Regions from separate parts of the Homo sapiens genome. Here all the other regions are linked to region 2. The links are contacts of gene promoters, found by promoter capture Hi-C in blood cells and fetal thymus (Javierre and others, 2016). All regions are on one chromosome and are shown on one strand. Each heading gives the region's core, a stretch centred on a gene start or on the middle of the fragment in contact. The rest is flanking DNA. Distances are from core to core; before and after follow the strand shown. Region 1 holds the start of CXCR4 (C-X-C motif chemokine receptor 4). Region 2 holds the start of R3HDM1 (R3H domain containing 1). Region 3 overlaps CCNT2 (cyclin T2). Region 4 has its middle 260 kb from the start of CXCR4. Region 5 overlaps CCNT2-AS1 (CCNT2 antisense RNA 1). Region 6 has its middle 20 kb from the start of TMEM163. Region 7 overlaps CCNT2 (cyclin T2).

Evidence for each region. Contacts are between HindIII fragments. The CHiCAGO score rates a contact against its expected background, and 5 or more counts as called.
Region 1: a fragment that was not itself captured here is called in contact with the fragment with the promoter of R3HDM1 in region 2 in 1 of 17 cell types (fetal thymus); the score reaches 7.1 in fetal thymus.
Region 3: a fragment that was not itself captured here is called in contact with the fragment with the promoter of R3HDM1 in region 2 in 9 of 17 cell types (naive CD8 T cells, total B cells, erythroblasts and 6 more); the score reaches 8.4 in naive CD8 T cells.
Region 4: a fragment that was not itself captured here is called in contact with the fragment with the promoter of R3HDM1 in region 2 in 4 of 17 cell types (fetal thymus, naive CD4 T cells, activated CD4 T cells and 1 more); the score reaches 11.1 in fetal thymus.
Region 5: a contact is called between a fragment that was not itself captured here and the fragment with the promoter of R3HDM1 in region 2, in 1 of 17 cell types (non-activated CD4 T cells). The highest score is 6.5, in non-activated CD4 T cells.
Region 6: a fragment that was not itself captured here is called in contact with the fragment with the promoter of R3HDM1 in region 2 in 1 of 17 cell types (monocytes); the score reaches 6.2 in monocytes.
Region 7: a fragment that was not itself captured here is called in contact with the fragment with the promoter of R3HDM1 in region 2 in 9 of 17 cell types (activated CD4 T cells, total CD8 T cells, erythroblasts and 6 more); the score reaches 10.2 in activated CD4 T cells.

The regions. Positions count from the first base shown.
Region 1 is chr2:136,116,902-136,120,730 of GRCh38, forward strand. CXCR4 (C-X-C motif chemokine receptor 4) reads right to left here and starts at 1,248. Exons shown (of 2, transcript NM_003467.3): 1 at 1,145-1,248. The coding sequence starts at 1,159. RefSeq lists a silencer at 1-39 and an enhancer at 170-239. The HindIII fragment of the contact is 602 bases long and covers 1,683-2,284 here.
Region 2 is chr2:135,530,125-135,534,055 of GRCh38, forward strand. R3HDM1 (R3H domain containing 1) reads left to right here and starts at 1,360. Exons shown (of 27, transcript NM_001378107.1): 1 at 1,360-1,509. It overlaps ZRANB3 (zinc finger RANBP2-type containing 3), which reads right to left and starts at 1,094. Exons shown (of 21, transcript NM_032143.4): 1 at 1,003-1,094. RefSeq lists enhancers at 407-486, 837-1,106, 1,075-1,369 and a silencer at 1,337-1,526. The HindIII fragment of the contact is 3,394 bases long and covers 1,248-3,931 here.
Region 3 is chr2:134,948,125-134,951,670 of GRCh38, forward strand. All of the region lies in intron 7 of CCNT2 (cyclin T2), which reads left to right. Among named protein-coding and RNA genes, the nearest start is that of CCNT2, 31 kb to the left of the region's middle. The HindIII fragment of the contact is 2,583 bases long and covers 201-2,783 here.
Region 4 is chr2:136,381,173-136,384,669 of GRCh38, forward strand. No RefSeq gene overlaps it. Among named protein-coding and RNA genes, the nearest start is that of CXCR4, 260 kb to the left of the region's middle. The HindIII fragment of the contact is 1,658 bases long and covers 968-2,625 here.
Region 5 is chr2:134,907,198-134,910,693 of GRCh38, forward strand. All of the region lies in intron 1 of CCNT2-AS1 (CCNT2 antisense RNA 1), which reads right to left. Among named protein-coding and RNA genes, the nearest start is that of CCNT2-AS1, 9.7 kb to the right of the region's middle. The HindIII fragment of the contact is 3,815 bases long and covers 1-3,267 here.
Region 6 is chr2:134,737,077-134,740,851 of GRCh38, forward strand. No RefSeq gene overlaps it. Among named protein-coding and RNA genes, the nearest start is that of TMEM163, 20 kb to the left of the region's middle. RefSeq lists an enhancer at 2,710-2,929. The HindIII fragment of the contact is 3,069 bases long and covers 1-2,877 here.
Region 7 is chr2:134,928,923-134,932,421 of GRCh38, forward strand. The region is part of intron 2 of CCNT2 (cyclin T2); the gene reads left to right. Among named protein-coding and RNA genes, the nearest start is that of CCNT2, 12 kb to the left of the region's middle. The HindIII fragment of the contact is 7,188 bases long and covers 1-3,499 here.

The sequences.
Region 1 (3,829 bases), core at 734-3,233, 590 kb after region 2:
CGCAAGCAGCGCTGCAGGGGCTCCGCTGGGCGACACGCCAGGCTCTGTCCCACAGGGTGCTGGGGAGCGACTGGGCGGCTCCGCCGCGAGCGTCTTTGAATTGCGCGCCGCTGCAGGAAACCAAAAACTCCCTAGCAAGAGGGTTTCAAAAGGTTTCTGGAAACCACCGACGGTTAAACATCACAACTGGACTCGGAGAGAGCCAAACGGTTTCCCCACTTGCACCTGCCAGTCTTCGCGGCGGCGACCTGGCAGCCCAGGTGCGGTCTTAACCGCCCCCGCCCCTCACCCCGTACCCGCTCCTATCCCCGGAGCGCAAATCTCAGGGCTGGCAGCTGCGCGGTGTCAAAGGGGAGGTCAAACCACTCCGCTGACCTCTGCACGACCCCAAACTCTCGAACTGCAGGACCCACTCGCGGCCGTGGGGAAGAGGCGCGCTTCGGACGGCGGGAAGGTTTTCCCCCTCAAACCCAAAGCGCGCGGGCGGATCAACTCCTAGCTGCTGCCACCACTCGATCCCCTCAGAGGATCGGCGCGGTGGGTCCACCCGCCTCTCCCGCCCTCTGCCTACTGTGCTGGGAGACTGGCACAGCTCCGTCGGCCGCACAGAGTTTAACAAACACGCACCCAGTGTCAAGAACAGTCACCAGGCGCTTAACCCCGAAGTTAAAGCGGGCGCAATCTCCTCCTGGGAACTCAGCCCAGGCACGCCGCCCTCCGCCTCTAAATTCAGACAATGTAACTCGCTCCAAGACATCCCCGCTTCCCCAAGGAAGAGACCGGTGGTCTGAGTCCCGAGGCAGCGCGCACGCCTTCTCTGCACTTGTGCACAGAATGTTCTTACGTTTGCAAACAGCGTGCAAGCCGCCGCGCGCGGCGGGACTCAAGGGGGAGACACATGCAGCCACTGGAACGCTCTTTCCAGTCGTTTCTCCTCGACTCACAGAGAAAAAGATTCCAATCCTGCTCCCCCCCCACCCACCCGCACTATATAGGCATGGTCAAGAAAACTCCTTTCGGTGACCCTTTTTTGGAGTACGGGTACCTCCAATGTCCTGGCCGCTTCTGCCCGCTCGGAGAGGGGCTGCGCTCTAAGTTCAAACGTTTGTACATTTATGACAAAGCAGGTTGAAACTGGACTTACACTGATCCCCTCCATGGTAACCGCTGGTTCTCCAGATGCGGTGGCTACTGGAGCACTCAGGCCCTCGGCGTCACTTTGCTACCTGCTGCCGCAGCCAACAAACTGAAGTTTCTGGCCGCGGCCGGACTTTTATAAAAACACGCTCCGAGCGCGGCGCATGCGCCGCTGGGGCGGGGAGGGAGAAGGCGGGGTGGGGGAGAGGGGCAGACGCGAGGAAGGAGGGCGCAGGGGCGGGGCGGAGAGGTGCGCGGCTTGGGAAGCCCAGGGGACCCTGCTGTTTGCGGGTGGTCGGTAGTGAGTCCGGAGCCGGACAGGACCTCCCAGAGGCATTTCCTAAGTTTGAGGGAAGCGGGATGCGCCTGAAGACAGGTGGGAAGCGCGGGCTAGGAACGCGTCTCTCTGTGGCGCGTCCATCCTTGCTAAAGTGGATGGAATTCCAGACCTGGGAATGCTACAGTAGAGACACTGAGGCCCAGGGAAGGGGAGTGACTTGCTGGAGTAACCCAACCAGTAGGCGGCAATGCTGGAAGTAGGGCCAAGCTTCCAACGCCATTCCCCGCGCTTTCAGCAGACGCAGCCCATTCAGGAGGTAAAAGGAGTAAAGATCCTTCCTTCGGAGGATGTAGCTATACTTGCACATTCACAGCATCACTAGGGTCAGGTGCAGATAATTAGGAGATACTTTCAGAAGAAGGTAGGATTTGGCATAATTCTGGAGACTGATCAGATGTAGATATGTATTGCTCAGTAATTTCATAATAGCGGTAACCAATTCGCGAATAGTGCTTTATTATCCTAAAAGTATGCTTTATTATAAGAGTAATTTAGCGACCAGTACTTTTTGTAACAGATCACTAGGAACTTGCACAGAATCACTCATTCATTCTCACAACACCGTGTGGGTATTACCATCACAGAGATGCATTTAGTCCGATATTTATAGAAGGACGAACTGCGTGCCACGCACTGTTCTAGGCGTTGGGGATCCAGCGTGAACCAGACAAGGCCCGCATTCGGAGAAACCAGCAAATAAGCCCGGAGAGATGAAATGCCAGGGATGGGCAGGGATTCCAAGCCGGGCTTGAACCCAGGTCTTCGGTCCCCATACTCGGCGTCTTCCACGATTTTGAGCAGAGGACAAGCTTTGGCACGAATCAGAAATTAGGTTGAAGAACTGGGCGGGGCGGAGTGGGGGTGGGGGTCAGACGTTTAAAGCGATCTCAGACTGGCTGAGGTTTGCAGTGGGCGCGCAGACAGTGCTTTCCCCCTCGCGCCACTTCCCTCCGGCGCGGAGACTGGGTGGGGCGGGGGAGCGAGTGTGGGGCGGGGCCGAGAAACTGCGTCCGCAGGCGGGGTGGCCGCTGCGGAGATAGCTGGGACCGAGGCGCGTGCGTCGCGACACGGACCCCAGAGGCCCCCACCCCGAAATGGTCCCGAGGAGAGGGATTGCCCAGACTGCACTCTACACACGATCCCTCTTTTCTATATCAAAAGAGGAAACATTTCAGTCTGGAGTGTTCCAGAGGTAGTTCGGAGGCAGGGAACCTTTTCTCTACAGAGCATGACTTTCCCCCTTTGTCTGGGACCCCTCCCTAATGTTGGTGGTTAAAGGTTCTCATCTACTCTGCACTTTCACTGACACAGGAAAGATGATATCCGGGCCGGGAGATGGGACTCTCAGAAACGAACGAGTTAGGACACACACTAATGGCCAGATAAAATCAATTCTAATATTACATTTGTAGAATTAAAAAAAAAAAAAGAAACTCCAGGTTCTTGGAGGGTGGTGGCTGGAAGAGGTTTCGGAAGCTCCACGCCCCTTCTCACAGGCCTTGCATTACGTATCTCTTCATCTGTATCCTTTATAATATCCTTTATAATAAACGATAACGGTAAGAAATAAAAATGAAAATAAAACCGTAAAAACACTTTTACTTTTTTCGAATCTTTAATAAAACTTAAGGATCTTCATATTTTTATAGACACGGTAGATCCTATCTACTGAAGGTCTAGAATTTCAGAGCGTTTTCATGACTTGCTTTTCACAAAGCCTGGTAGTGGCAGAATCAGTATGTTTTATCCTGGACCGTAAGCTGCACCCTACCTCAAAACTCCTCCCTGCACGATGTCTAAAACCTGAAAGGTGAGATCTCCCAAATCTGTCCAAAAAGGGAAAGAGGAGAAAACTCGGAGCAAAATGGTTTGCATAATAAATATTTGTTGATTGTAGACAGACAAAAGAAAGCTCCTTCCTTTATCTGAAGACTCCTTTCAGATCTTTTTAGGGATCTCTACTAAAAGGAAGCAGATAATTAAAAGAACAATGAGATGCTATTTGGTGACTACCAAATTAGGCAAAAATCCATTTTTTTTCAAAGATAATATTTGGTCTCCGGATTTGAAAAGACCAGCTGTCTCTCGCTTGTCACTGATGGGAATGTGGCTTGGGACAGCCTCACTGGAAAGCATTTTCTATTCAGCAGGAACTTCAGAACAGTAACTCCACTCATAAAAACTTATGCCACAAAGGTATTTGTGGAAACATTTTTTTTTAAATAGTGAAATGTCTGAACATCCCTAAATAACCACTGTTAGTGGAATAGTTGACAAGATTTTGGTTCATCCACATCTGAAATTCCATATGGACATCGCGAATGTTATTTGTGAAGAATTTTTAGTGACATG
Region 2 (3,931 bases), core at 110-2,609:
GCTGAGACAGGAGAATGGCGTGAATCAGTGAGCCAAGATCCCACCACTGCACTCCAGCCTGGGGACAGAGCAAGACTCCGTCTCAAAAAAAAAAAAAAAAAGTGTGTCTGTAAATGTAGTTCAGAACTTCGGAGCCCTGTCTTTACAGTTCAAACTGACCACGCGAAGACTAAAGGCAGTAGAGGTACTTTCTACAAATTTAGCCGTGCAATCTAATAGCGAGCAGGCCGAGACGCCCGCGATTGAAGGCCGGGGTGGAGAAAGTAATAAGGGCCCTGGAAATTACCCCCATCCCATGTCACCCACTCTTTCTTAAAATGCCATTAAATTCCGTTCAACTTTTTATCTCCCATGCAAGAAACTAGCGACTTGCCAGCCACGCCACTTCCAGCCAGTCACACCTGGCGTATTCGCCGCAGAATCTCCAACTCCCGCCACAGGTTTGGGACGTGTCCGCCCCTAAGCGGAAGTGACGTTCAACGGGACAACGTGAAAGTAGATGAGTTTAAATACGTACTAATAATTTAAAACCCCTATGGTATTTTGAGGAAACTCTTCCGGCTACCCTTCTTCCATCACTTCTCTCCCGTTAGGGTTGCGAAAAGGGCTCTGTACAGCCTCGCGACAACTCGTTCTCCGCCCTAATTTCAAGTCATTCAAAACTCTGTCCCTTTTCATTGGCTGAAGCGGCGGCATGGGTACCTCTCAGGAACTACAATTCCAGCCAAGCACCGCGACAAGTGAACGGAGGAGAAGTTATGAGTAGGGGAAAAGCATGTTGGGAATCGTAGTCCGCTCCAGGCCGAAAAGAGCAATCACCCCGCCCTCCGCCACTGAAGCTGGAGAAACCAGGTGTTCGTTTCAGAACCCGTTAGCGCTAAGGGGAGGAGCCAACCCCTTAAGCAGCATGCCTCACTTCGCCCCACATGGAGGATAATTTTCCTTTACCCCTAAAAAGCACTATAAATACCCACTGAGGAGATCTGGTTGTCTTTTAAATACCTCGAGTCAGTAAAAACTCACGAAACTCCGCACCTCAGGCTCCAACTCGTGGGAAAAGGTAGCTCTTTTACAAGTGGGCAAAATGGCTGTCCTCCTAGTTTTACCATTGGTTGGCTTTTGCGTCCTTCAAGGGCGGTTACTTACCACGGATTGGTTCTTTTTCTCTTGAGGTTGGAGGAAGATTTGGCACGGCTCTCCGCGGCCTGGGAGGAGGTAAAGGGGTGGAGAGAAGACAGTTTTTTTCAAGCTTGATTGGGCAAAACTCATGTCACTCCGGGGACGTACAACCTATGAATAGTCGGCTGCCGCTCAAAGAGAACGAAGAGGCGGGGCTAGTGCGTGGTGGGAAGGGGCGGGATTCTGCCAGCCGCGGCTGCCGCTGGAGCCGGTGTCCGGGCTGGTGATGGGGTTAATTCCCTTTCGTAAGACTCTTACTTGCACCCACCCAGCCCCGCCGTCGCCCCGCCGCGCCGCGCTCCAACCGCCTCCTCCTCCTCAGTAACGCGGGTAAGAGATGCCCTTCCCTCCCCCGTCCAGCTCCCCGGGAATAACGCGCCTTGCTCCCCTCCCCCGCCCGCCAACCGGTAGCGCTAACGGAGAAGGAGGCAGGCAGGGGAGAGATGTGGTGTGTGGAAAGGTGGCCTTCCCCGCCGGGTCGTCGGCGCTTCAGCCAGGGCCTTCTGACGTCCCGCTGCTGCCAGCCCGCCGTTAGGTCGGGTTCCGAGTGAGCCAGGCTCGCCTGGCCCGCGGCTGCGGCTCCGGCTGCAGCTGCAGCCACTGCCTTGTGCCCACCGCCCCCACCCGGGGGCCATGTGAAAAGCAAACCCCTCGAGGCCTAGCGGAGGAGGCAGGGGAAAGGTTTCCGAGTCCCTGCCATGGCTGCTGCTGCTGCCTCCGCGGCTGCTCTTGCAGCCCCAGGGACTCGGGAGCCAGCCACAGCAGGCCTGCCAAGAGCGTGGTACTGCTCTCTCGTGTGGCTGGCGCCGGTGCCCCGGGCTCCCCCGGCCGCCCCACGGCCGCATCCCCTGGCCTTGCACCAAGAGAATTTTCAGCTTCGACCGGTTGGTAAAATGTAGGTACATTTTCCCTGTGGTACCAGAAAAAGCACAATGGGAATATTAAAAAGAAAGTTGAATGACTGTCAGTGCCACGGTCCCCCGGGATCAGATTTACACACGTTTTGATTCCTGAGCCTTAGGCTGCCAACAAATCTTTGTGGGCTTTGAAGTTTTTTGGTGTTTTGTTTTCTTTTGTTGCTGTGACTAGGTGCAAAGGGTGACTCTGTTGAGCTTGTTTTTATAAAGAAACTTAAATTATTGGGACTATCATGCTCCGTGTGTAATTGTCCTGGGATAGTTAAGTAAAAGGTGAAGAAGAGGTGCTTTCCAAATTAGGATTAGTGAACAGCAAATGGTTTTTCTAATAAAATTTTCTAAATATATATATATATATCTTCATGGTTATAGTTTACCTAATTGTAACTGTAAGAAACCTTTTTTAGCTTAAATATCATTGATGACAAAAACTTTTAAATGAAAAGATGATTAAAGTCAAACTGAAAGTCTACCCATTTATAATATGTGAAACAAGATCTTCTAAGTAATAGGATACCAGTCTGACAGGAATAATTGGACACGTCTCAATTTCTAAAAATTTGGCATATTTGGCTATTTTTAGGGCATTCTGTTATGATTTCTTCATCACATTTTGATGGAGTACGCTCGTCTTTTCAAATACCACTCTGCTTTTATGCCTGGAAGAATATGTCTTTAAATCATGGATTCTATAGTCTGTAGTAGACATAACTGTGATCAGAGATAAAATTCTAGGCCCATTTCTGAGGTTTACTTGTTAGCAGAATAAACTTGGGTTCTGAGGAAACATCTGAGTTTTGATCATTTCTTCAGGGTTTGAGAAGACTATGGTGGCTTAATGATCTTCTGTATTCCATAACTAGTACACCTAGTTACAGAATTGACATAGATACATTCAGGTCCTGGAGGAAATTTGTGGTATCTATTAAAAAAATGAAAATTGCCAGTCATGTAGTAGTCACCTGTAGTCCCTGCTACTCAGGAGTGTGAGGTGAGAGGATCACTTGAGCCCAGGAGTTCAAGGCCAGCCTAGGCAATATAGCAGAACATGGTCTCAAAAAAATAAAGAAATAAATACACAGCCTTGGAAGGCAAGTCCCCTGAGATCCCCACAGAGTTCCTGTAACATATATTGCCAGCTGCCAGCATAGTATTTTCCAGAACTTAAGAGTTAATTGATAAATTATACAATCGATACTTTCAGATCTTGGGTGATTTATATAGAGAAAGAGCTGTTGAAAATTTAGGAGTCTTCTACATTTTCTTCCTGGCTGTTGGATCCCTCCATGAACCTCAGTTCGGTTTCCTCATCTGTAAAATGAGGATGATAATGCTTAACTTAGGGAGTTATGAAAATTAGAGATAAATATATAATAGTGGCCGGGCGCGTTGGCGCACCTGTAATCCCAGCACTTTGGGAGGCTGGGCGGGCGGATCACCTGAGGTCGGGAGTTGGAGACCAGCCTGACCAACATGGAGAAACCCCGTCTCTACTGAAAATACAAAAAATTAGTCGCTCATGGTGGCGGGCACCTGTAATCTCAGCTACTCGGGAGGCTGAGACAGGAGAATCGCTTGAACCTGGGAGGCAGCGGTGAGCCGAGATCAGGCCATTGAACTCCAGTCTGGGCAACAAGAGCGAAACTCCATCTTAAAAAGAAAGAAAACAGAAAATTAGAGGTAAAGTATGTAAATCCCCTAGCATTGTGCCTGACACAGTTTGTGCAATAAATATTAACTGTTATTTTCATGCATATTTAGAGAATGGGTTTGTTGTTCATATGCTGAGGGTGTTGTTGCAGCCTTAGAACACATTCTGTTACTGAAGAGTACCA
Region 3 (3,546 bases), core at 242-2,741, 580 kb before region 2:
GGCTGGGCAACATAGACCCTGTCTCTACAAAAAAAAAGTTAAAAATTGACTGGGTGTGGTGGTGCGTGCCTATAGTCTCAGCTACTTGGGAGGCTGAGGCGGGATGATCACTTGAGCACGGGAAGTCAGGGCTGCGGTAAGCCTTGAAGGCACTGCTCTACTCCAGCCTGGGTATATATTAACTACCACCAAATATCTAAAGCTTTTTCAGGACTTAAAAAATAAATAAGTAAGGTTTAGAATTCCATAAGCTGACAAGATAAGAATAGTGATTTAAAGTATACTAATTCTGTTGAGTTTTAAATGTGTATACTGAAAGTTGAGTGTTAACTGTGAAGCAGTAAACGAAAGGGATTTTCAGGGGATTGTGTTTCTTGCTCTGTATTACCATTGTTGCCTTACATTGTTAAATATGAATACACAAGGAGAAATTGTGGGTGTGTGTTCTGTTAATTAGGAACGTGGAATTTTGGGGATGTTTTGATGAGAAATTCCTCTGGTTGAGAAGTAAAAGAAGCCGGCCAGAAATGGGAGATTCTTGGGATTAGGGCATTTTAACCACGTACTGTAGATTTCAGCAAGAAAATAGATAACACTTTTTTTTTTTTTTGAGTCAGTCTCACTCTGTCGCCAAGGCTGGAGTGCAGTGGTGCAATCTTGGCTCACCGCAACCTCCACCTCCCGAGTTCAAGCAATTCTCCTGCCTCAGCCTCCCAAGTCGCTGGGACTGCAGGCACGAGCCACCACACCCAACTAGTTTTTGTGTTTTTAGTAGAGATGGGGTTTCACCATGTTGGCCAGGCTGGTCTCAAACTCCTCACCTCAGATGATCTGCCCACCTTGTCCTCCCAAAGTGCTGGGATTACAGGCTTGAGCCACTGTGCCTGGCCTTGTTTTGTGTTGTTTTGTTTTTTGAGACAGATACTCACTCTGCCCCCCAAGCTGGAGCGCAGTGGTGCAACCTGGGCTCACTGCAACCTCTGCCTCCCAGGTTCAAGCGATTCTCCTGCCTCAGCCTCCTGAGGAGCTGGGACCATAGGCGCATGCCACCACGCCCAGCTAAGTTTTGTATTTTTAGTAGAGATGGGGTTTTGCAGTCCACCTGTCTTAGCCTCCCAAAGGGCTGGGATTACAGGTTTGAGCCTCTGTGCCCCACCTGATGTTTCTTTAAGATAGGGGTCTGCAAAGAGTAACACTATTTTAGAGTTTGTGAACTATAAGGTCTCTGTTGCAACTATACAACTATACCATTGCAGCCAGAAAGCAGCCATAGGCAATTTGTAACTGATTGGGTGTGACTGTGTTCCAGTAAAACTTTTGTTGACAAAAATAGGTGGCCAGCCATATTTGGCCAATTATCCATAGTTTGCCTGTTCTTATTTGTGAAATATGCTTCTTTGTTTCATCCTTTTCTATTTTGTTTTCCACCTGGAAAAAATTATCCCAGAATATATATCTCATGCTGTATTATTGCTGCATGATTATAATGTTTTTCTTAAATTGTTAGAGGCTTTTTCAGAGTTTATCCAGAGGAAAGGAAGTCTTCAATGAGTTGAAATGACATCTAAAACTCAGTGAGGGCTTATCTGTTCTATAGCTTGAAAAATCAGGTTATCTAGGTCATTGTTTTAGTTTAATAGTCACTAGATTAAGATTAGGTAGGCAAAATTTTTTTTTCGGGGGGGGGGTGGGGGACAGAGTCTCAGTCGCCCAGGCTATAGAGTGCGGTGGCGCAATCTCGGCTCGCTGCACCCTCCGCCTCCCGGGTTCAAGCAGTTCTCTGCCTCAGCCTCCTGAGTAGCTGGGATTACAGGTGCCTGCCACCACGCCTGGCTAATTTTTGTATTTTTAGTAGAGATAGGGTTTTCACCATGTTGGCCAGGCTGGTCTTGAACTCCTGACCTCATGATCCACCCACCTTGGCCTCAAAGTGTTAGGATTACAGGCGTGAACCACCACACCCAGCCAGTAGGCATAATCGTAATAAAAATAGTTTATATACCTGGTGCTGAAGTAAAAAGATCACAGAAAAGTAATCTGCCTTTTATCCTGTCTTTAGGTCAGAGGTTAGGTTGTGGTTTATGTGGGGTTTTTTGACACAGGAGGAGCTACCTCATTTCCATTCTGAAAAGTAAAGTTTGTTAATTTGGAGAGCAATTGAATAGGAATCTTGGAGAACTGATATGTTAAGACTTTCACCATGTTTTGCAGCAGCTTTTTTTTCTGTGTCAGTCACAAAAAGGCAATTCAAAATTAAAGACATGAAGGTGTGGCCGGGTGCAGTCACTCACATATCTTGAGCACAGGAGTTTGAGCCCAGCCTGAGCAACATGGCAAAACCACGTTTCTACTAAAAATACACACAAACCGGGCATGGTGGCGCACTCCTATAGACCCAACTACTGTGGAGGCTAAGGTGGGAGGATCACCTGAGCCTGAGACGTCAAGGTTGTAGTGAGCTGTGATAATGCTACTGCTCTCCAGCCTGGGCAACAGAGGAAACCCTGTCTGGGGGGAAAAAAAAAGACATGAAGATTTATCTGAATTGTAGAGTGAAGTGATACTACTATTCTTATTACTTACTGAAATAATTCACTTAATGATTGTGTTCCAGAAAAGAACATTGGCTTAGACAGTAGCTTTGAGAGAGAAGGGCCTCTATTTTAGGCACATACTGTGATTTTTGTGCATATAGCTAATTAATTATGTTAATGGATTATTTAACAGATTCTTTTGTTGTTCTGCTATAAAATTTAATACAGTAGGATACTTAAGAAAAACAAAGCTTACATTTTGTGTACGAGATTTTGGACCAGAACTTGAAGTGTATTTAATGTTTTACAACCAAGTTGTTAACAGAAATTGAGTCAAAACAGTTTTGTTAATGTTGGACCCAAAAGTAGAAAAATAGTCTTTTTTTTTTTCTTTTTTTTTCAAATGAGGAAGTAAAGGTCTGGGCATTAGGGTTTTTTTCATCCAAACTGGATGAAAAAGCTCATGAGACTTTAGCAGGGACTAGTCATGACATTGTCAAGGAAATTACATCTTGAAAGATTAATGGTTAAATTATAGCTTGTCTGAAGTGTCGATCTTAACATTGGCTTAGAATAGTTTACAAAAAAGCTTGCTATTACAAAATGAACCTGTAGTCTCTATTAATAGAGGTTCCCCCAGTATTGAGGTGGAATTGGCATTATTAATATTATATAATATTCTGATGTATTTGACTGATGAATATTTGAGAGTGGCTAGTAACTATTAATGACATTATTAGTTCATCAAAACCACACTACTTTGGAAAAGTGGGTCATTTGATTGTAATCAGAATTTTAAGAAAGTTGGTAGAAATTTACAATGAAGATAGTTTGCTAATATATTAATAGTGTTGATAGCTAGGAAGTATATTTGGAGGAATTTTCCCCTTTAAAAAAAAAGTCTGGGTGTGGTGGCTCACACCTGTAATTCCAGCACTTTGGGAGGCCAAGATAGGAGGATCACTTGAGGCCAGGAGTTTGAGACCAGCCTGGTCAACATAGCGAGACCCTG
Region 4 (3,497 bases), core at 547-3,046, 850 kb after region 2:
GTTGGTCAGGCTGGTCTCAAACTCCCGACATCAAGTAATCCCCTCCCACCTTGGCCTCCCAAAGTGCTGGGATTACAGGTTTGAGCTATCATGTCTGGCCCCCTATAGCAGCTATTCTTAAGTCTCCAGCTTCAGAGGGCTGGGGCCAGGAGAGGTTAAGAGGTGAACATCCATATTTACAGCCTTCATGTTTGGGGCCTTCTTCTCCCTCCTAAGGTTTTTCTGTGTTAAAATGCAAGTACATGTGCCCCTGGTGGAGAAACTCCCCGGGCTATAAAATTTTTACTACAGAATTGACAGAAATGGTCCCTGTAGATTTGGCTGAAATAAGATGTGCTTGAATTGTAAAGGGATGCCCCATATTTGGGGTAGGTGCTGTGCTAGTCACAGTCAATGTGCTTGTCAGGTGCATCCCCCTAGAAAACCAGCTGAGTTTGGTGTGAAGATAATTGGGAGGAGGAGAGTTTGGGTTCAGGGAGGAAAGGCCTGGTGGGGGCCTGCAGTGGATGGGAGAGCAAGAAAGAAGGGGCGTGGAGAAAAGTAGGGAGGCAGGTGTGGGGGTGCTAGAGGTTGTTACTTCCTGAAGTTGGGTCCCTCTGGGTGGAATGCCTTTCAGTGACCAGGGGCCACCTGTCCCACCATGTGACTCCATTGCTCAAGGAGCGTCCAGTGGAATAAGTGAGAATCTGAAGCAGAGAAAAATCATCCAGCAGCCATGTGATGAGTATGTAGGGGAGAGTTGAGGCTATGTGGTCAGCTTCGGTCCCGAGTTAGAATCAGATCTGTGACTTCAAGCAGAGTGACCCTGAGCTGGTTATCCAACTAATTCGTGACTTAGGCCTTCTGATAAACTGGGCTTCATAATATACTCATCTCACAGGGCTGGTGTGAGGATCGGCAGGGGTCATGTGAGGAAGCACTTAGCAGAGTCTAGCAAGCACTTAAATAGCAACTAGCGTCATGACAAAGCTTTATGCTCTGGATGCCCTTGACGGGGCTTTTAGCTGTGTGACCTTCAAGAAGTCACCTGCTCTTTCTGAGACTCAGTTGCTTCAGCCCTTTAAAAACAGAAACAAACACAGCCGACCACAGGGTGTGTATGGATCTGAATGAGTACAGACAAAGTCACTCATTGCAGGACTGAGTAGGAGGCAGGGTGCTGGGATTGGTGGGTTTAGGGAGGTCTGGGAGGGCCCTGAAGCTCAAGAGAAGTTTGTTTGGAAAGAAAAGCATCTTCCGTTTTGACTGAGAGGAAATGGGGAGGGGATGTGGTGCAGCGTCAAAGGCAGGGTCTGCTGACGAAACTTGGTGGTGGTGTTTCTCAAACAGAAATAGGACATTCTCACTCTCCGTGACACTCAAACTCCAAAGTTTCGGCCTGGGTGGTGGTTGCACCTGTCACTGACGACCTCACTTGACTTTGAGTTAAGCTGCCCAGGCAGCCAGAGCAACTGTGCCCTGGAAGGCGGCCCTGCCATCAGACAGACATGTTTTTCATATATTCCTGATTTTCATGTAGTAGTTCACTGGACATTTACTGCACACCTACTATATGCTAGGTGCAAGGGATTCAGCAGTGAATAAAACAGTTGCAGGTCTTGCTCTCAAAGACCTTTCAGTCCTGCAGGAGACAGAGGCAATAGAGAAAGAACAGCTTACTTGCATGTATAATTAAGATTTTTGCTGTGACGTTAAAGTTCAGAATGCTGTGAGACTGTACAATGGGGCAAAACCTAATTTAGATTGGGAGACCAGCAAGATAAATGAAACAGGAATGGAGTTCAGATGAGAGATGAAATAACACTGGACTGAAGTGGAGACAGGCTTTCTTTTTTCCTCAAACACCTCCCTTCACATCCAGGCATAGACCACTGGAAAAGTAGTTGCCCTGCTTCCTGATATTACTGTCCTCTAAATACACACACTTTGTGTACCCCCTCCATTCATTTCCACCCCGTCAGTCATTCTTGCCTGTATAAATTTCAACTTTAGCCACAGCCCTGGCCTCACTTCTTATAAAGCCTGCTTCACTCTTCAGTTCTCCAAGTTCTCTCTTCCTTTAGGCCTTTTTTTTTTTTTTTCAGGGTGGTCTGGACTGCTCTTTCAACCTGATTCTATTTGCCCATGTGGCATGTTTTGTTAATCCCATGGCCATACGTATGCTGGCATGTCTATAGTCCATCTGTGCAAATAGATGATACGTAGCATTTCCTCAACCAGAATACTGAGGAGCCTATGCAAATGAGCCATAATAGATCTTATCCTTCAGCCTGCTCACTTGAATGAGTTAAAACTGAGATACAGAGTAGTTAAAGGGGCCCACCAGTCACTGGACGAGAGTCTCAGACTATGATCATGTCTTGTTATTTTATCTTTATATCTCTTCAGGGCATTTGTTCCAGAGTCAGAATGCAATAGATGTTTTCTCTTTGATTGTTTATTCCTCGAGTTGGCCCATACATGTACTATCCCCTGTTCTTCCATTACTCATTTCAAGCAGTAGCTGTAGCATCTGTATTATTTAGCTCCTCTGTATGACTTGATTATCTTATCTGTCAAATGGGTATAGTAATTCAAATCAACAAACATTTATTCAATACTTACTATATCTCAAGGACTTTGCAAAGCTTTGGCGGGGGGCGGGGGTGGGTGCTGCAATAAGCCTGTTAAGATAGATCTGTACTCTTGCCTTAAGGAAACACACAGTGGTAGAACTTGGTAAAGGAATAACTACACTATAGCAAAAATGTCTATAATAAAGGAATATGCAACATATGGGAACACAGAACAGAGTAACTATTGCCTGGGGTAAGTGGAAAAGCTCATTAACACCTTCTCTACTTACCTTGAGTTTGCATTATGAGATTCTAATGAGATCATGCAGTGAAAGTGTGATGAAAAATGGAAAGGATTGTGCATGAAAACTACTAACCAAATGGATGGCAGTGTGATATGGGAGACTTTGGAGAGAGGTGAAAGAAGAAAGTGGTGGCTGCGACAAGAGGTTTGGACAGCATCTGTTCTGATGAACCAGTAAGTCTTACACACAGATAAAATTCAGAGGCATGGCTATAGACCATCTGAGCTACAGCCACCCCAGCTTTAAATTAAGATTTTGGCCACAGGAATGACCCAACCTCTTCATTCCATTAACATAGGTGAAAGCTCTGTGACCTGGAGTATTTGTCACCATTATCCTCCCATTGGAAGAAGATGATTGGGAAGACTGGAATTAGATGAGCGGAGGGAATGCTGGTGGGAGTGGGCCTTTGGAATGGGAAGCCCATAGCTATGACCATCTTGTCAGAACTAGGAGCCCTGATGGGCTAGTGAGAGAGTCACTTCTCTCTCCTTGTCCCTGCATCTGTAATCATGGAGATCTGAATGATGTGTTGTTTTGAAATAAGTGGTTTGCAAACATGAGCAGCTGTCATAATAATGAAAGCACAACATTCAGAAAATTACTCTTTGGTTAGGATTGACAATAGTTTGGGTCA
Region 5 (3,496 bases), core at 110-2,609, 620 kb before region 2:
CCACGGAACAGGCAGGAGAGAACACAGCAAGAAAGAAAACCACTGTGGCTGAAGATGACAAAGGAAGACATTCTTGGTAAAAAGTGACAAGCTCATGTGAGGCCATAAGTCAGTTGAGGAATTTTATATGTTGAAAAGCTGTGAGAACTCACAAATGGGAGAAAACATTTGCAAACTACCCATCTGACAAGGGATTAAGAACCAGAATCTATAACGTGCTCAAACAACTCTACAAGAAAAAAATTTAATAATCTGATTTTGAAATGGGCAAAAGATTTGAATAGACATTTCTCAAAAGAAGACATACAAATGGTAGACAGGCATATGAAAATGTCCTCAGTATCATGGCTCATCAGAGAAATGCAAATCAAAACTATAGTCAGATATCATCTCACCCCAGTAAAAATGGCATTTTTCCAAAAGACAACCAATAACAAATGCTGGCAAGGATGTGGAGAAAAGGGAACTCTTGTCCATTGTTGGTGGGAATGTAAATTAGTACAACCACTATGGACAACAGTTTGGAGGTTCCTCAAAAAACTAAAAATAGAGCTACCATGTGATCTAGTAATCCCACTGCTGGGTACATACCCAAAAGAAAGGAAGACAGTATATCAAAAGGATATCTGCACTCTCATATTTGTTGCAGCTGTGTTCACAATAGCCAAGGTTTGGAAGCAACCTAAGTATTCACCAACAGATGAATGATTAAACAAACTGTGGTACATATATACAATGGAGTACTATTCAGCCATAAAAAAGGATGAGATCCTGTCATTTGCAACAACGATGGAACTGGAGGTCATTATGTTAAGTGAAATAAGCCAGGCACAGAAAGACAAACTTTGCATGTTCTCACTTATTTGTGGGAGCAAAAATTAAAATAATTGAATTTACAGACATAAAGAGTAAAAGGATGATTACTAGAGACTGGAGTGGATAATTGGGGAATGGGGATGGCTCATGGGTACCAAAAGTAGTTAGAAAAAATGAATAAGACCTCATATGTGATAGCACAATAGGTGACTATTATAGTCAATAATAATTTAATTATACATTTAAAAATAACTAAAAGTATATAATTGAGTTGTCTGTGACACAAAGGATAAACGCATGAGGGGGATGGATACCCAATTTACCAAGATGTGATTAATAAGCATTGCATACCTGTATCAAAATATCTCATGTACCCCACACTACTATGCACCCACAAAAATTAAAAATTAAAAAAAAAACAACAAGAGTTGGAAGCAAAGAAGCATGGATTGGAGTCTTACGGTCACAAGCCAAGAAAGGCCTAGAGTCACCAAAAGCTGAAGAGCCTAGAAACAGATTCTCCCCAATAGTCTTCAGAGGGAGCACAGCCCTGCTGTTTTAGTCCAGTTTTCATTGCTCATAGCAGGATACCTGAAACAGTAATTACTTCTTAGAGTTACAGAGGCTGAGAAGTCCCAGGTTGAGGGGCCACATCTGGTGAGGGCCTTCTTACTGGTGGGGACTCTGCAGAATCCCAAGATAGTACAGGGCATCATATGGCAAGGGAGCTGAACGTGCTAGCTCCAGTCTCTTCCTCTTCTTATAAAGCCGACCAGTTCCATTACCATGATAACCCATTAATCCATTAACCTATTAATCCATTCATGAGGGCTCTGCCCTCATGACCCAATCACCTCTCAATACTGCCACATTGGGGATTAAATTTCAACATGAGTTTGGGAGAGGACAATCATTCAAACCATAGTCCCTGCCAACACATTGATTTTAGACTTCTGGCCTTTAGAATTGAGAGATAATAAATTTCTCTTGTTTTAAGTCAAAAAACAATACCAAAAGAAAACAAACAAATAATAACAACAACAACAAAGAAAAGCAATGAGAAGGTTTTTAAGTAGGGGATGGCATTAATTAGAGCTGATTTTTTTTAATCCTGCTCCTGTGGGATAGAATTCAATTTTGAAAAGATTCCTCTGGCAGGCTGCAGGATGACAACAGCTTGCAGGGGAGCTTAAGTGAAATAGCTTGGGCCAAGATGGTGGTAGTGTTGCTGGTGGAGAAACATACGTAATAGACTCCAGAGATAATAAGGGTCAACAGAAAGGCTTTGGTGATGGGTTAGATACGGGAGATAAGGATTACAGATACCAAAGATGACCCCTAAGTTTCGGACTTGCATAACTGGAAGTAGTGCCATTTTACTACAAGAGGCACAGAGAGAAGACCAGGTTGGAAAGACAGGATTATGAGTTTAGTTTGGGGAAATATTGATTATTAATGCCTTTGAGACACACAAAAGGGAAAGTCGAGTGTGCAGACTTATGCAGTTTGAATTTCCTAGCACACAGTAACATCTCTACTAGCATTCACTGGATAAATAAATAGTAAAATAAAAATAAGTAAACAGGTCTTCCTCCTAAAATGAGCAAAGAAAGGAACCGGAAATCAATCTTCACCGAGTATGTTAGGAATTCATGCAGTTCTGAGTGTAATCCAAATGGCAAGGCCTCACAAATTTGTGACTATCTACAATGACTTGAGTCTTCACTATCCTCGTGAGCCTTTCTTCTTGGCTCACCCGCCTAGTAAGCCCTTCTCCTTGGCTAATAGATGGGTGTCTTCTCCCTGTGTCTTCATATGGTCTTTCCTCTGTACATGTCTACATCATGACTGACTCTTCTTCTAGGACACCAGTCATACTGGATTAGGGCCCACCCTAATGATCTCATTTTAACTTAATTCCCACTTAAAAGAACCTGCATCCAAATATAGTCACATTCTGAGCTACTTGGGGTTAGGACTTTTGGGACACAATTCAGCCCGTAACAAATGCCTTATATATATTCACAAACCAATCTGGCAATGTCCATACCAGGGGTGTAATTTGGTGACAGCAGACATTCTTCTCAGATGCCATTAGCAGCACAGGGTTCTAAGCAAAGGTAAAGAGAATAATCTCCTCAGTACCATATTTGATTGCCTGGCCCTGGAACAATATTGCTTACACAGTGAATCTGCTCACAACCCAGAATCTAGAAAAGTCACTCAGGAAAATCACCTTTTCAGTGTTTTCTCTCCTTCCTTATCTACTGCAAGCACTTCTCCAAAAACAACCTTTTTAAAACACTCCCAACACCACCAGATTCCAAAGGAGAAACAACCACTCATAGCCATCCAAGCATCTTTCTCTTTCCGTTGTACAGTACCTTCTCCTATATCCCCTAAAAAGAAAGCCAGTACTGGCTCAGCCTAATTCATATTCCCTGACCAAAAAGCTTAAATCTGTATTCAAGGTAATCACTTTAGATTAACATACCAAGACAAATACCAGCTTTAAATTTGTTTAACTTAAAGAGACCATTATGAAGATTTTTCCCAATCAAAATTGAAAAAAGGTAAATTGAAGTTTCCATTTCTGAAAATAAAAAACTGCTCACAACCTAAAAACATTAAAGTTTATTTTTAAAAAGTCAACACAAGCATATGTAAAAGTTCAAACAGA
Region 6 (3,775 bases), core at 93-2,592, 790 kb before region 2:
GACCTCTTCTATGACTTTGTAATCTAACAGAACTGAAGAGATGAGTGACTGGGTTCTGGTTCGCCTTGGCCAGAGCTGTGTGTCCTTCTTATACCTCACTGCTCCTCAATTTCTGAATGTCTGAAAAAGCCAGCTGATAGATACTATAGATACTTATTCTGCCTAGCCCAAAAGAAAGCCAAGAGAATAATTATAGAATGCAAATACGAAAAAGAGAGTTAGATGAGGCCTCACAGGTCAGCTAAATTTGGCAAGACTTCCAATTTACAAGTGAGAAACTTGAGGTGCAGTGGTGTGTGCTCATTTGTTATTGCTCCGTAACAAATTACTGCAGACTTGGAGGCTTGAAACGGCACAAATTTATTCTCTTACAATTCTGGGAGTCAGAAGCTGGAAATGAGTCTTATGGGGCTGAAATCATCTTATGGGGGTGTCAGCAAAGCTGATTTTCTCTGGAGACTCCAGGAGAGAATTTGTTTCCTTGCATCCTCCAGCTTCTAAAGGTGGCCGTCACTCCTTGGCTCCTGGCTGAATTGCTCCAATCTCTGTTTTTATTGCCAGTTAGCCTTCTTCTCTCTGACTCTGATTCCCCTGCTTTCTTCTTATAAGGATCTTTGTGATTAAAATAAAGCCACCCAGATAAGCCAGGATAATCTCAAGGTGAAACAGACAGAAATCGATGACAGAGCCTATGCTGGCTTGTGTCAGCAGGAAGGACAGGGTGCACCAGGTGTGGCAGACCCTGAACTGCATCACTGTTGTTAGACTGCTGTTTACTCTCTCCACGCCTTGCTGCTGTCACTTCCTGAATGTCGGCATACTGTATATTACCTCCGAAGGGTCTTTCCCACATGGCAGGAAAGATGAATGCTGACAGCCCTAGATTTGAATCCTTCTAAAAACTCGAGAGGCAGGAGGCTGTCCTTTCCCTTAGTTTCTATAAAACAGTCCCAAGGAAGGGCTCTAATTATCCTGGCTTGATAATGTATGCAAAGTTCAAGTCTGGCAGGAGGTTTTGCACAAACCCAGCTTCCAGAGTTCTGCGAGGGTTCTTACTCTGGGGCTCAAAGCAGCCCTGGCTGCTGCAGCAGTCCCCACGCCATCAGGACAGTTGCAAGGAGAAAAAAGGAGCCCCAATCCCTCACCACTTGCATTTTTTGGTCTAGTCTGGGAAGACAGAACATTGGCACAATTTATGAAAAGCAACTTTGTTACTCACAGTTAAGCAGCAAAAATCAACAGAAACCCAGGGTCCACCATGAGCAGTTCCCCAGGGTTCAGGAATGCTGCCAAGGGCAGATGCAGTCTAAGCATGCCTCACATTACACTCTAGCTGAGGGACTCTGAAAGCACTCCATCCTGGGTTTATATACCCTGGGTACCACTTGGACCACTGAATGCAAGCACTGCAGAACATCCTATTCTAGAAGGAATAAGAATGTAGCCTGGATTGCTCCAGACATTTCCTCCTTATTACAGGATTTTCAGTAGTTTCTGTCTAGGAATGAAAAGCAAGAAGGGGAAGAGCTGGGTCGGCCAAGGTCATCCAGGGACTTATGTTCCTGCAATGTGCTCATTTCTGAGCCAATCTCTGTAACCAGCCAGGGATGGTGCCCTGGTTCAGCCTGGGTCATGTGTCCACACTGTGGGCAAAGCTGGAGGGCAGGATTACTATCAGGAGAAGGCACAGGAAGAAAATCATGCTGGGCAAGGCAAATTCATGGTTACCTCAGCCTCCAGCTTGTCTGAGAGTGTCCCATGGCCATGGTTCATGATGGGTGATGGGCAACCAGGATGAGACAGAAGCCAGGGAAAGAATGAAGATAAAAAAGAGTGGGCCCAGAGGAGCACAGCCCATGAGATTGCACCTCTGGTCCTTGGGAGGCAGTGGTTTCAAAGAGGGGCACTGCAGATGAACACTCCCAACACGGCTAAGGAGGTCAGAGACATGCCACATCTCTAGGACAAGATGAAGTGGGGACAGCCACCTCCAGCTTCACGCTCCCGCTCAGCAAAATATGGACAATAGTTCTGGATTCATAGGGCTTGTCTGAAGTTCTATAGAAGCAGGACCTGAGACACAGATTCTTGGTGCAAGTGATCTCAGAAAGAGAATGTGAGTGGCAAGATAGAAAGAAAAAGGAAGCCAAGAAAAATGTAGATTCAGCTGCATTTTAACCTCTCAGTCTGATCCCACCTCAGCCTGATCCCACCATAGCATGAAGAACACCACAAAGTTATGCAACCTTGAGACAAGGCACCAGACTTTTGCACCCCATATCTGTCACTCATTGTCTGTGGCCACCCCTAGGGGGAAAGCAGGCATTTCTAGGCAAGGTGGCTCCCCTTAGCTGAGCATTCAGAAGAAGGAAGCAGCTGCAACCTGTGAGCAGCCAACACTCAGCTACGGGGTGGTGCCTGGCAGATTAAAGTGTATCTGGTGGGGGCCCCAACTATACCCCTTATGGGGCTATTGTGAGATAATGAAGCTCAAGTCCTATCACAAGGCTGGGAGTTATCATTGTCATCATCATTATCTTATCCCTGTTGTAGAGAAGTAATAAATAGTAAGCATCACATAACACATGCCTCTTGGCTGGCTGCTGCACAGACATACATAGGCAGTAGGAATGTACACAGTCCTTTGTTCATATCCTGTGCCACCCCTGCCATGGACTAGTTATGTGATTTGGGGTGCCAAATTTAGCCCCCTTGAGCCTCAGGGTTCTAATCCATAAAATGGGCTAGGTAACCAGAGCTGGGCTGTTGCAAGGATGACATGAGGTCATCCCCATGGTGCTCTAGGTGCGGTTCTTGGAACAGAAGAAAGCATTCAAGTGACTGTGGGTCATCAGCTTCTGTGGTCAGACAGTCTAAAGCTTCAGCTGACACACATGGAGGCCAAGAAGACACTGGCTTCACGAAAGGCAGTAATATGACTGTGTATTATGTAAAAGATGAAGCCAACTGTGTTTAAGGAAGCAAATCCATTTTCAAAAAGAGGATGTGAAAACAAAGCCTCTAAAGACGTCTGTCTGTTACTCATCAAGACTGTGCCACGGATAGGGCCTTTGCTGTACAGCACCTCCTCAAATGCTCACACAGGCCACCGCTCAGAACAAAGGGGCCTCACCCTGGGCTTCCACAGAGATTTGTCAGCCCGAGGCCACCACCTTTAATTTGGTGGATCAGCTTTTCCTGCCTGTAATCAAAGAGGATAGGATGTGTGTCGAGGTATAGATTAGTTGGGGCTGCCCTGCCCCGCACCCTAATAAAGGTGTAGCCATGAACCTTATTTAGTCTCTCCTAAGCCTCATTTCCTTCTTAGTTAACGGGGGAAAATAATATTTGCATTTAGGATTATTTTAGAGAACTAAATGAAATGGTATTTGTGAACACTTAAATCAGTACCTGGTCTTACATCAGTCCATTTGAATCAGCACCTGCTGCCAAAAAGCAACTATTATTGTGGTTATTGATGTTCATTTTTTCAACCAGTATTTACTGTCTACCATGTGACAACATTGATTTTGGTGGTGGGAAGACATTGGCAAGAAAAAAACATGAGGGTCCTGTGCATAAGAAGCTTACATTCAAGCGAGGAGAGATAGTTAACATAGAACCACGAAAACCTACAGGATGCGATAGTCACATAGAGAATTAAAATAGGACGATGAGACAGAGTGATGGAATAGATCCCTGAGTCTGGCCTCTACTTTAGAAAGGCCTCTCTAAGAGGTGAGGTTCAGGCTGAGATCCAAAAACCCAGATGAGG
Region 7 (3,499 bases), core at 610-3,109, 600 kb before region 2:
GTAGATATTTCAGTTACTTTGTGTTGCTATAGCTCCATGATTGGGGTTTTGAATGCCTAGTGTGAGTAACTGTTTGAGTTGATATGGTTCACTTTATGTAGACTTAAATATCTGTTAAAATTATTTTTGTTACCCAAACAAATTAATAATTTTATGAAACAATTGCTTTTTAAAAAATAATATAATTGCATAATGTAAATGCCAAAAAGTTATTTGCTGTTTAAGAAATTGATATTCTCAAAACAAAACCTGATTCTACTTTTAAATTAACAAATGTGTGATAAAGTTACACATGGTTAAGATGCATATTGTTTATTAGTATTTGTTACGTTATGATTAGGCTTTCGGTTTCCTTGAAATTTCTTTTGTTAGTGCATGCACACTACATCTATGGAGATCTGGCCAGGCATGGTGGCTCACACCTGTAATCCCAGCACTTTGGGAGACAGAGGTGGGAGGATTGAAACCAGGACTTCAAGACCAGCCTGGGCAACTTGGCGAGACCCTGTCTCTACAAAAATTAATTTAAAAAAAAATTAGCCCGGCATCTTGGTGTGCGCCTGTAGTCCCAGCTACTTGGGAGGCTGAGGCAGGAAAATCGCTTGAGCCCAGGAGGTTGAGGCTGCAGTGAGCCACGTTCACGCCACTGCACTCCAGCCTAGGTGACAGAGCAAGACCCTGTCTCAAAAACAGAGAGAGAGAGAGAGAGAGAGAACTAATAAATAGATGCCTTTTTTTTTTTTTTGAGACGGAATCTTGCTGTGTTACCCAGGCTGGAGTGCAGTGGTGCAATCTCAGCTCGCTCCAGCCTCCACCTCCTGGGTTCAAGTGATTCTCCTGCCTCACCCTCCCTGAGTAGCTGGGATTACAGGCATGCACCACCATGCCTGGCTAATTTTTGTATTTTTAGTAATGGCAGGGTTTTACCATGTTGGCCAGCCTGGTCTCGAACTCCTGACTTCAAGTGATCCGCCTGGCTTGGCCTCCCAAAGTGCTGGGATTACAGGCATGAGCCACCCCGCCTGGCCTAAATAGATGTCTTTAACGTTAGCTCCTTAAAAAAAAAAGAGAGAGAGAGAGATACAATTCATATACCGTAAAATCCACCTATTTAGAATGCATAATTCAGTGGCTCACACGAAGTTGTACAACTATCACCACAATCTCAGTTTAGAATATTTTTATCACCCCAAAAAGAAACCTGGTTGCTGTAAGCAGCAGTTCACCAGTCCCACTCCCCTTCCCAACCCTGGGCAACCCCTAAATTATTTTCTGTCTCCATAGATTTGCCCATTCTGGACATTTCATATAAATGGAATCATGTATATATGGTCTTTCACGAAGCATGTTTTCAAGGTCCGTTCATGGTGTAGAATGTGTTAGTACTTCATTCCTTTTTACTGCAGAGTAATTAATATTCTATTCGTCATGTGGCTGTACCTCTTTTTATTTATCCATTTATCAGCTGATGGACATTTGGGTTGATTACACTTAACAGCCATTCCACTGGCTATTATGAATAATGCTGCTATGAACATTCATGTACAAGTTTTTATGTGAACATATGTTTTCATTTCTTACGGGTGAGAGTTACATGAGAGTGGAATTGCTGGATTGGTATGGTAACTTTAGACTCCAATAATCTTTTTGGATAGCTTTTAAGAAACATTTTGAGGAACTGCCGAACTGTTTTCCAAAGTAGCCATACCATTTTGTGTTCTCAAAATGTGTGAGGGTTGCAATATCATCACTTTTCTCGTCTTTTTTTTATCGTAGCCATCCTAACAGTGTGAAATGATATCCCCTATTCTATGCATTGTCATTTTTATGTTCTTGGTGGTATTTGCAGCACAAGCATCCAGTTTATTAATATTTTTCTTCTGTAACTTGTGTTCTTGATAGCATATCTAAGAAACCTTTACCTAAACTAGAGTCATAAAGATTTATTTGTCTTTTCTTCCAAGAGTTTTATAGATTTAGCTCTTACATTTAGGTCTGTGATTCCTTTAGAGTTAGTTTTTATGTATGATGTAAATAAGGATTTGAATTTTTTTTTTTTTTGAGACATCTCACTCTGTCCCTCAGGCTGGAGTGCAGTGGCGCCATCTGGGCTCACTGCGTGCTCCACCTCCCAAGTTCACGCCATTCTCCTGTCTCAGCCTCCCAAGTAGCTGGGACTACAGGTGCCTGCCGCCACGCCCGGCTGATTTTTTGTATTTTTAGTAGAGACGGGGTTTCACCGTGTTAGCCAGGATGGTCTCGATCTCCTGACCTCGTGATTTGCCTGCCTTGGCCTCCCAAAGTGCTAGGATTACAGGCATAAGCCACCATGCCCGGATCTTTTTTTTTTTTTTTTTTTTTTTTTGGTATTTGAATATACAGTTGTCCCAGCACCATTTGCTGAAAAGAGTTCTTTCTCCCACTGAATTTTCTTGGGATTGTTAGTGAAAATCAATGGATCATAAATGTAAGCATTTATTTCTGGACTCTGGATTCTATTCCATCCCCTTATGCAGACCACATAGTCTTGATTACTGTAGCTTTGTAATAACTTTTGAATTTAGGAAATATGAGTCTTCCAACTTTGTGCTTTTTCAAGATTGTTTTGGCTATTCTTAGTCCCTTGTATTTCCATGTGAATTTTAGGATCAAGCTCATCAGTTTCTACAAAAGAAGCTGGGATTTTTATAGGGATGACATTGAATCTGTAGATAAATTTGGGGAGTACTGCCATCTTCGTGATAATCTGTTCGAAGGAAAGTGGCCTTTTGTAACATTTATGTAGTATATTTGAATTCCTGTGCAATGTTAATGTTCTTGTTTCACAATACAAGTCATTTTTTGTCCTTTTGGTTTTTTAAGAGAAGGGATCTCACTCTGTTGCTCAGGCTAGCCTCAAACCCATGGACTCAAGCAGTCCTCCCACCTCAGCCTCCCAGGTAGCTGGGACTTAGAGTGGTATTTTTTAGTATTTATTGTAGGCTGTTAGGAGCTGTGTCTATATAAGAGAGAGTAGATAGAGCCTTAACTATGAAATACTAAGTATACTTTATAAGTTGGTTTTTTTCATTTTTTCTTTTTTGTTTTTTTTCAGACAGTCTCACTCTGTCACCCAGCCTGGAGTGCAGTGGTGCTCGCTGCAACCTCCGCCTCCCAGGTTCAAGCGATTCCCCTGCCTCAGCCTCCCAAGTGGTTAGGATTACAGGTGTGTGCCACCATACCTGGCTAATTTTTTTGTATTTTAGTAGAGACGGGGTTTCACCATGTGTTAATCTTGAACTCCTGACCTGTTGGTCTCAAACTCCTGACCTCAGGTGATCCGCCCGTCTTGGCATCCCGAAGTGCTGGGATTACAGGCATGAGCCACCACGCTCGGCTGATATTTTTTCTTTTTTAGAAACATTCATAATGCTCAGGTACTCCCCACTAAATAATTTTTTAAATGCCGGTTATGTTAACCATTTTCAGTATATTGTTTAAGTATAATGTAGTTACTCTA